2 separate regions of the Homo sapiens genome follow, and region 2 is linked to region 1. The links are contacts of gene promoters, found by promoter capture Hi-C in human tissues and cell types (Jung and others, 2019). All regions are on one chromosome and are shown on one strand. Each heading gives the region's core, a stretch centred on a gene start or on the middle of the fragment in contact. The rest is flanking DNA. Distances are from core to core; before and after follow the strand shown. Region 1 holds the start of ATXN7L1 (ataxin 7 like 1). Region 2 overlaps ATXN7L1 (ataxin 7 like 1).

What was found. The method cuts DNA at HindIII sites, captures the fragments that hold promoters and counts their contacts. A contact is called where the count stands out against the background at its distance.
Region 2: a contact is called between a fragment that was not itself captured here and the fragment with the promoter of ATXN7L1 in region 1, in 3 of the 25 tissues and cell types used here (IMR-90 fibroblasts, mesenchymal stem cells and pancreas).

The regions. Positions count from the first base shown.
Region 1 is chr7:105,874,608-105,879,118 of GRCh38, reverse strand. It overlaps ATXN7L1 (ataxin 7 like 1), which reads left to right and starts at 2,520. Exons shown (of 12, transcript NM_020725.2): 1 at 2,520-2,741; 2 at 3,239-3,307. The coding sequence starts at 2,561. RefSeq lists a silencer at 2,268-2,477. The HindIII fragment of the contact is 16,114 bases long and covers 1-4,511 here.
Region 2 is chr7:105,805,625-105,810,135 of GRCh38, reverse strand. The region is part of intron 2 of ATXN7L1 (ataxin 7 like 1); the gene reads left to right. Among named protein-coding and RNA genes, the nearest start is that of ATXN7L1, 69 kb to the left of the region's middle. RefSeq lists enhancers at 921-1,030, 1,151-1,220, 2,692-2,741, 3,382-3,431, 3,592-3,761. The HindIII fragment of the contact is 3,708 bases long and covers 34-3,741 here.

The DNA.
Region 1 (4,511 bases), core at 1,271-3,770:
ATTAGCTGCTGCCTACACCTTCCTTGCATGCACAACAACACAGGAATAAACATCAAAATAGATAATAAATAGAGGGAAAATAGGGAAGCAGAAGGGAAAGGGAAAGTGTTCCAGCATCTAATTACTCATGCCTCAGAGCTCTCGCATTCTCTCTCCCCACCTCTAAATCTAGCCCAACAGCACACCCTCTGATCAGGTGCTCTCTTCACAGTCTCACACCTGTCTCCTCTTCTCTACCTGCATAGCACCACCAAAGTTCAGGCTTTCATCTCTTCACACCATGAATATTGCAGCACTACTTTTCTAACCAGGCTCCGTACTCCAATCTTTCTAACTCACACTTTTAACTTATCTTTATGGTACAGAAAGCCCTTCAGTAGCTCCCCATTGTCAAACAAAATCCAGACTCTTTAGGCTGCCGTTTGGTGCCTTCCATAATTTGATCCAGGCCTGGGTATCAAAATGCATCACCCCCAAGCCCCCAGTAACAATTCTCCATCCCAGGCAAACCATGCTCAACACCCAAACACACCATGTTTATACTCAGCTTGAAGCCTCTGCTAATACCATTATTCCCCCTCCCTCCGCAAGACCAGTCTTCACCTTACCATTACAAATCTTTGGCAATTTCCAAGATGCAGAGCAGAGCCCATCTTCTGTTACGCAGTTTCTGTTCACTCCTAACTAGATTTCGGTTCCTCTATGAACTGGCACAGCTGAGAGACCACCCCACCCACTGCACAGGCCAGTCCCTGTGTACCTGCCTGTTTTCCCAAGGAATCGGTAAGTTTCACAACTTCCTTCTTCCAGAGACCACCAGACTGCATCTCTGTGAGGGTGAGGATGGGTCTCACTCATCTTTCCCTCCTGACAGGAGGGCACAGCTGTTCCATGACAGGCAATATTGGTTGACTTAAGATGGACAGATGGAAGGAAGGAAGGAAGGAAGGAAATGTCAAGCCCAGGGTCTAGCATATAACAAGAGGTCAACAAGTAATACATATTTGTTAACACCACCAATTCTTACAATGGGAATTCTTCACCCAGCGACACCTTAGCTATGTAGGAGCCCTTCGAAAGAGAGCAAAGGCAAATGCAGTTTATCTGAGTCTGACACAAACAAGCCGACTCACACAAACATCACAACTAAAGGCAAATCCGCAGCTCCTCCTTCATCGCCCATCCTAACACTGGCTTAGCGATACAGGGTGCCAAGCTCAGGGAAATTATTAGATGGTTCAGCCAGGGCAGAACTCAGTCAGTACAAAGCAACTTCCAATCAGTGCGCTTCAGCTGTGACAACTTGGGAAACAGCAGTGGTGAGAGCTAAAAGGGTGCTGGCGAAAGAGAAAAAAAAATATGTCGCTTGTGGGGTGAGGGCGGTGTCCATATAGTTTAGATAATTCTAGTAAACAAAAGGATTTGTTAAAAAGAAGTAACAGAAGACTTTTTAAAGCCTTCTTTAAAGGGTGAAAATCTCAACTAAAGCACCCAACGTCCAAAATCCAGAGGAAATCTAGCGCTCCCTTTCTAGCTGGCTAGAGCAGTTAAGCCTGAAGTGAATTCTCCCAGGAATCAGATTCCTGGCCAAAGGTTGCCTGCGCAAACCCGGGCCACCCTCGTCTCACGGCAGGGAGCGCTGGAAACGGCTCAGGGGCTAGGCCCGTTAGCGTCGTCTTCCAAGAGCCGTAAATTCGCCCTCCCGCTCTGCTGACCCTGGAGCAAAGTCCATGCAGTGGTTCTCTGAGAGCCGGAGATACGCACCGCGCGGGGAACCCGGGGGTCCGGGGGCCCTAACTTTTGAGTTTTGCACGCCCCGCAGCCTGAGATGGGAAGGTAGCTCGTAGCGCTCCAAACTCACCTGCGTTTCAGAACGACATCTACCCACTGGTTTCAGCTCCTAGAGCAACAACTGCAGAATCTCCATGGTCCAAAGTCCTCCAGGAAAGAGAAGAAAGGGGTGACGGGGGTGAGGGCTGGGAGGCGAGGTCACCAGGGTCCCTTCCCTGGCTCGGGTGGGGGTGGGGGGCGCAACCCCTCACGGCTCCTCCCCACCAAGCCGTCGGGACCCCAGCGGGGGCGCCTCGCGTTGGGCGACAGGGACGCGGGGAGAGAGCGACAAGCTGGAAGCAAGGGCTGCCTGCAAAACTTTCGGTCCTCCAGCGGCAACTCTGCGGGAAAGACCACCCTTCCTTCGGCCCCGCGTCGGGCCTATCCCCGTGTGCCCCGACCCCTGCGCCCCAGGCTTGGGCGGCGCCGCTGCATCCCGGCTGCCGGGCGCGCTGCAGCCTTCGCTCTCCCGCACGCGGCGCTCGCCCGTCCGCGCTGCCCCTCCCCGGCAGGCGGGCGGCCCCGGCGGGCGGGCGGGCGCGGACTGCAGGTGCCTCTCTGCTGCCCCTGGCGGCCGCGGGCGCGCGAGCCCCACCGAGCCGGCTCCGGGAGCCCGAGCGCCCGCCCCTCCTCCGCTCCCTCTCCCCTCCTCCTCCGCCGCCCTCCTCCCATCCCGCCCTTCCTCCCTCCCTCCCCCTTTCAGAACACTCAATGTCGGAACGTTCCGAAGATGACGTCGGAGCGTTCTCGAATCCCGTGTCTCTCGGCTGCTGCTGCCGAAGGAACAGGGAAAAAGCAACAAGAAGGAAGAGCAATGGCGACACTGGATCGCAAAGTGCCCAGTCCGGAGGCGTTTCTGGGCAAACCCTGGTCCTCCTGGATCGACGCCGCCAAATTACACTGCTCCGACAGTAAGAACCCCACCACCTCCTCCTCCTTTTATTATCCTGTAACCTTTCCATTCACCTAGAGCCACTGGGAAAAAGTGTGTGTGTGAGAGAGAGAGTGGCCCCCGGTGTCCTCCATGCTTCTCCCTCTCTCTCTAAATAAATACACACAGAGACAGATCATCAATGCACAGGGAGAGGCCCGGCTGCCAGGGCTGTCTGTCTGTCTGTGCCCGGCTCCCCGTGGCAGCCCGCGGGGTGGGCTCGCAGCCCCACGGTGTTGTCCGTTTAAAAGGCTACTTTGTTGCTGCTTGCATAGTTTTTTGGGTACCTATCTGGGCCAGGTAGATGGAAACCCAGACTTGGGAGAAAATGTTGCATTGTCAATTTTTGAAAGAATTTCATATACAGTATTTATATCGATCTGTTTGCAAATAAACACTCTCCCTCCCCCCTTGACTTTGGCTTTTTTCCCCCCTTTTTTCCTTATTTTCTGTTTTCCTTTTCTTTTTCATCTGCAGATGTAGATTTAGAAGAGGCTGGAAAAGAGGGTGGAAAAAGCAGGGAGGTTATGAGGCTTAATAAAGAAGGTAAGTGGAGCTACTGGCATTTTAGTGTTAGCATGTGTGGCAGAATCTTCACAGGATTTCGAATATAATGTGAATTGTTCTGCTGGGTACAGAGTGACTAAGGCTTGTCAAAAATTGAGCACGCCCAGGTGACTACTGCTTCATGTTAACTTCTTTCAAAGTATAAATACAACTGGGGGGGGGGTAAAGGGGGGTGAGACTGTTGAAGGCAGAAGTTTACTGCACTTCAGTTGGACTCCACGTTTGAACCTTCTGATGCATATCTGCCATTCTCCTTGGGAGCATCATTGCCAAATGGTGGGGCGTTAAAATTTCTGAAATGAAGAGTGGAGTTCCCTTCACAAGCATCCCAGCCTTTCTCGTGGGTGAATGCACAACAGCTTAATGAACCCCACATGGTCAGTCATTCCAGCAGCTACTTCTCCACTCACCACTGAAAACCATTGTACATGGCAAACCTTTGCAGCAAGTTACATTTGGCCCACTTTGCATTTGGTCACAGATTGTTATGTGGCAAGCAGGGTTAGGAGCATCTGTATGTGCAGCCCCTCAGCAGTCATCATCTCTCTTTTCCCAGCATGGAAATACGGTACCTGAAATGGGACACACTGAGTAGATAGGTCATCCCAGACCAAGATATGCAAGAGAAGCCACAACCTGCTGCAATTGGGCATCAAACACATATGGTCGTCATAAATAAATCATATCCTGTTCTCATTTGCAAGCCTGCCGTATGTAACTCTGGCCTATGGGCTTCAAATGGAGCAACTCCGGGGGCCACTTGCTGCTAAGCAAATAGGTGGATTCATTTGAATTGTGATTCACTAACTGATGTCTTATAAACATAATTGGCTGAAATTGGGGGTGGGAAGATGGCACAAGGGGACAGAAGAGGTTGGTGGTATTGAAAGAGTTCAGACATAAGTAGGCCATAGGTGCATTGGTCATCCCAAATGAATGGAGAAAAGGCCATTAGATGCCAAAGAATGGTCCCCCTCATAAAAAGGGATGTCACCCTGGAAGGCAGCTGAAGCCTGCGTGGAAAGATGGAACTCATTTTATGAATCAACACTTCAGATGGTTGGTTTTCTGTGCCCAATCATTTCCTGACCATCCACTGAGAGGAAATTTTGTGCTTCAGAAAAAATAACATGAAGGTTAAAATGCGTACATATTCAAGGACAGTTCCCTAGCATAATGTTTC
Region 2 (4,511 bases), core at 638-3,137, 68 kb after region 1:
CTAAAATAGAAATTTTAAACTGTACAGAAAGAACATGGTGTTATGTTCAAGAGAATGGAGTCTGGGCTGGGTGTGGTGGCTCACACCTGTAGTCTCAACACTTTGGGAGGCCAAGGCTGGAGGATCATTTGAGTCCTGGAATTCGAGGCCAGCCTGGGCAACATAGTGAGACCTCGTCTCTACAAAAAATTTAAAAAATTAGGTGGATGTGGTGGCATGTGCCTTTCGTCCCAGCTACTTGGGAGGCTGAGTTGGGAGGATCACTTGAGCCCAGGAGGTCAAAGCTACAGTGAGCTATGATAGCATAACTATGCTCTAGCCTGGGCAACAGAGTGAGACCCTGTCTTGGAAAAAAAAAAAAAGGAGTCTGGAGCCACTTACACAGCAGGTAAGCATAGGCACCTCACTTCACCTCCCTTTGCCTCAGTTTCCTCATCTATCAAAAGGAGATAATCATGCCACCTTACCTTGAAGGGTTTCTGTGAGGGCTAAATACGTTAATATATGTAACCACTTACCATGGAAACAGTGAGTACCATGTCAGTATCATTGTAAGGATATATATTTGAACCTTGAGGACACTATGCTAAATGAAATAAGCCAGTCATAAAGGACCAATACTGCCTGATTCCACTGATATGAGGTATCTAAGGCAGTTGACTCGTAGAAGCAGAACATAGAATGGTTGAGTGCCAGGGGCCGGAGGAAGGAGGAAGTGAGGTTGCTGCTCAGTGGGCGTGGAGTTTCAGTAGTGCAAGCTGAGTCAGTTCTAGAGATCTGCTTTACAACAGTGTGCTTATGGTTAACAATACTGTACTATACACTCACAGATGTGTTAAGACAGTAGATCTCATGTTATATGGGGCTTTTTAAACCACAACTTGTTTTTTAAAAAGGATGTAATATATTAGTCACTAACCCTTTGTTTTATTGAATTTTCTCAAGGTTAAGGGACTTACCCAAGTGCTCGCAGCTTATAAAGGAAAGAGGGTGACAAGAATGAAGCCTCTGACTTCCAGGGCTCTTTGTCCTGCTCCAAGTCAGGCATTAGTTCTGTCTGTCAAAATCCAGATTATCAAAGGACCATAGTATAAAAGGGCTCTGCAATATGGGGAGGTGCATCCACGCTTCTTTGGGAGAAACGCCTCACATGTTGGCTTCATAAAACTCTTCTATGCCCCGTAGGTTGGACAATGAGAAATAAATAATCCAGACATTGGTGTTTTTGATAGGTGGTTAGAGCTTCCCCAACAGGGGGAGTAAACAAAAGAACCATCTTAATTTCAAGCTTAGTTAGAACTACGGAAGACTAAAAGTCATTTTTCAAAATGGTGGGTGGTGCCAGGGCTCTATCCCCACCTGGAAGGGGCACTTGATCTGTAAAAGCAGCAAAAATAATTGTGTCTTTTATGTCACTTAGGTAGAAGCTCCTGTCCCAATTAATTCTTATCTCCTCCTCCCTTTATAAATATGCTTGGGCAAAGTGACATCCTAGCAGTTTTTTGTTTTGTTTTCTCTCTTCTTAACAAGGAATTCTCTCTGCTTAGGCATTTTAGGTGCTGATTTTTCTCATGTCCCAGAGATGCTTCTAATTAGTTGATGCTTCCTTCCCATAATAGTTCACCACAGAGAGTGGATTTGGACTGGAGGAGGGAGCAATTTTGTCATCTTATCAAAGTGCCACTGATCAGGTTGGCTTTCCTGAGTGCTCATTCATTTTTCCGCCTCTCTGGAAACAGAAGCAGCAAGCTCCTTGCTGAGTGGAGCTGGAGGTTTTTGGGTTTTGCTGTCTCCCCAGTGCTTCCCAGCACCCTTTGATGAAATGCTGCCTCAGAGTCTTTGCAGTAGGGCTCACTAGAGAAATTATCTTTTTCCTTTCACATCAGTGGAAAAACACTTGGCTGGGGACAAATGGCAAAAGCATGCCACTGTCACCTTGTCCCTAAGTAACCTGGCACCCACCAGGGCTGCCTGCAGGCCCTGTGTGTCCTGGGGAGAAGGTATATAAAGGCCTCTTCCTTTTCCTGCTTTCTAGGAGCAGAGTGACCCTCCAGGCCAAGGACAGTGCTGTATTCTTGGGTGGTTCTGACATTGCAGAAAGAGTCTGTGGACACTAGAGATCCAAGAATTATCCTCCAGTGCTTCAGAGCTGGAAGGAGATGCTAGCTCAGGCCTCTTTAAGGACTTGTATCAGTTAGCTAGCTTTTGCTGTGCAACAAACCACCCCAAAACTTGATGGCTTAAGACAGTAAACATTACTTACTATGATTCTGTGGGTCTTCTGGGTGTTTCTTCTGGTGCGGATAGCGCAGCCCAGGCTGGATGGTCAAAGAGGCCCTCCCTCACCTGTCTGGTGGTTGGGAGGCTGCTCGGTCTGGAGAGGTCTGGGCAGGAACAGCTCACCTGTGCTCCATGTGGGTCCGTCCATGCTACTGCAGCCCAGCCCGGGCTTTCCACATGAGGGTTCCAAGGAGAACAAGAGAGGGCACACAAACCCAGTGCATAAGTATTTTATAAGTGTCTGTCACAGTTGCTAATGGTCTGTTGGCCAAAGTAAGTCATGTGACTGAGCCCAGAATCAATGTGAAAAGGGGGAACCCAAGGGTGTGAAGATTGGAAGGTATAAACAACTGGGGGGCCATTCCTGCAACAGCCTACCCAGGAGTGCCGCGTCAGAAGGTGTGTCCTGTTCTCGCCCTGCATGGGTTTGTGTCAGTGTGGGGCAGCTCTTTCAAGGAAGAAATGAAAGGCTCTTTTGAGGCAGGGAAGTGCAGTGGAGTTTGACACACAGTGTTCAAATTCTGCACAGCATTTACCAGCAGTATGACATCAGGCAGGTGACTTGACTTTTCTAAAGCCTGGGTTCTTCACCTCTAAGCTGGGTCTGGTCAAGTTTCCCTCATGAGGTTCTTCAGGACACTAACTGATGTTTGTGGAGCAGGGTGTGTGGCATGTGGTCAGCACCCAATGTAGCTGGCATTGTGGTGGGGCAGCAGAAAGGCAGCTATGCTGGGAAGTTGGACAGTGCCAAATCCTGGGGCAACAGGTGGTCATCCATGCACAGGAAGCTTGGCTGGACACCTGGATGGCAGCGTGCCCTGGCCCAGGAGGCCAGGTGAAGATGGCAAAAGGGAAAAGAAGGCTCTGCTGGCTTCTTGCAGACTAAAGCCCTGTTCACATATTTGTTGTTTAAAATTGAAACAAGTAAGTCACCCTTTCTTGGTTGTACATCCCCCCACAGCAACTGCCAGTTGACTTCCACACCCTATTTTTTCCCCAGAGCTTTCACTCCTTGTCAGAGGTGTTGAACACTGCAGTGCTTCCCACGTGGCTTCTCTGTGCCTCTGACTCTGTTGCTGGGTCCTCCTGGGCACTTCCTCATGACTCACCTCCTCCCTCTGCGAGCGTTCCTCTCAGCTTCCTTCACTGGCCCCTTCCCTCCTCTCATCTTCTTGTTATTTATTGGTGTTCCCCAAATTCTAGCCTTAACCCTGTTGTCAGACAACACTGTTTCACAGGGAGACTGTGCACAACCCCAGCTTGGCCCCCGCTTGCTCATGATGTCCCCACTCTGTCTCTCTGGCCCCAGCTTGCCTCTTGGACTGCAGATCAGTTTCTCACACTTAGTAGGCTGCAAAACAAAGCTCTCCTCCCCATATGTCCTCAGTCTGCTCGGGCTGCTATAAGAAAGTACCATAGCCTGGGTGGCTTAAACAACTGAGGTTTATTTCTCACAATTTTGGAGGCTGACACCCACGATCAGGGTGCCCGCATGGTGAGTGGACGGGTGCTCACTGGGCAGAGAGGGCCCTGGTGTCTCTTCCTTTCCTTACAAGGGCACTAATCCCATCATGGAGCTCCACTTTTAGGTCCCCATGTAAACCTCATCATTCCCCAAAGGTCCCATCTCCTTATACCACCTCACTGGGTGCTAGGGTCTCAGTACATGAATCCAGGGGGACGCAGTTCAGTCTCTAGCACCATGTAACCTGCATTCCCATCTGTCTTCCCCTCTTCCTGGTAGGCCAAGCCAGAAAGCTCTAAGTCATTTCCCACAGTGGTCAGTTCCAAATAAATGTCTCTTGGGTCCTGCGTCCTCTCTGTCCCTGCAGCCCCAGACCCTGCAGCAGCCCTCTCACCTCCAGCCTTGTTCCAGCAAGCTCAGCATTGCTTCCAAAACAAACACCCGATCACTGCTCTCTGCATTCTCTCTCTCATACTCATGAGCACATGGTAAAACTCTGCCTCGCACCTCTCTGGCCTTATCTCCTGCCCTTCCCCCCAGCATCCTCATTCCCTGCTATATTCACCCACCTGTGGCACCCTCACCAGGCCAGCACATCTCACCACACTGCATTTGCTCTTGCTGTTCCCACGACCCGGGCTGCCCCTCCCCCTGCGACTGCCTGGAAGCTTGTGCTCATCTTTCAGGAACCGACTCTGGGGTCATCCTGGTGAAGCTCTCCCTGCCCTCTGCCGCAGCATGAGCCACGCACACGTCCTATTTATCA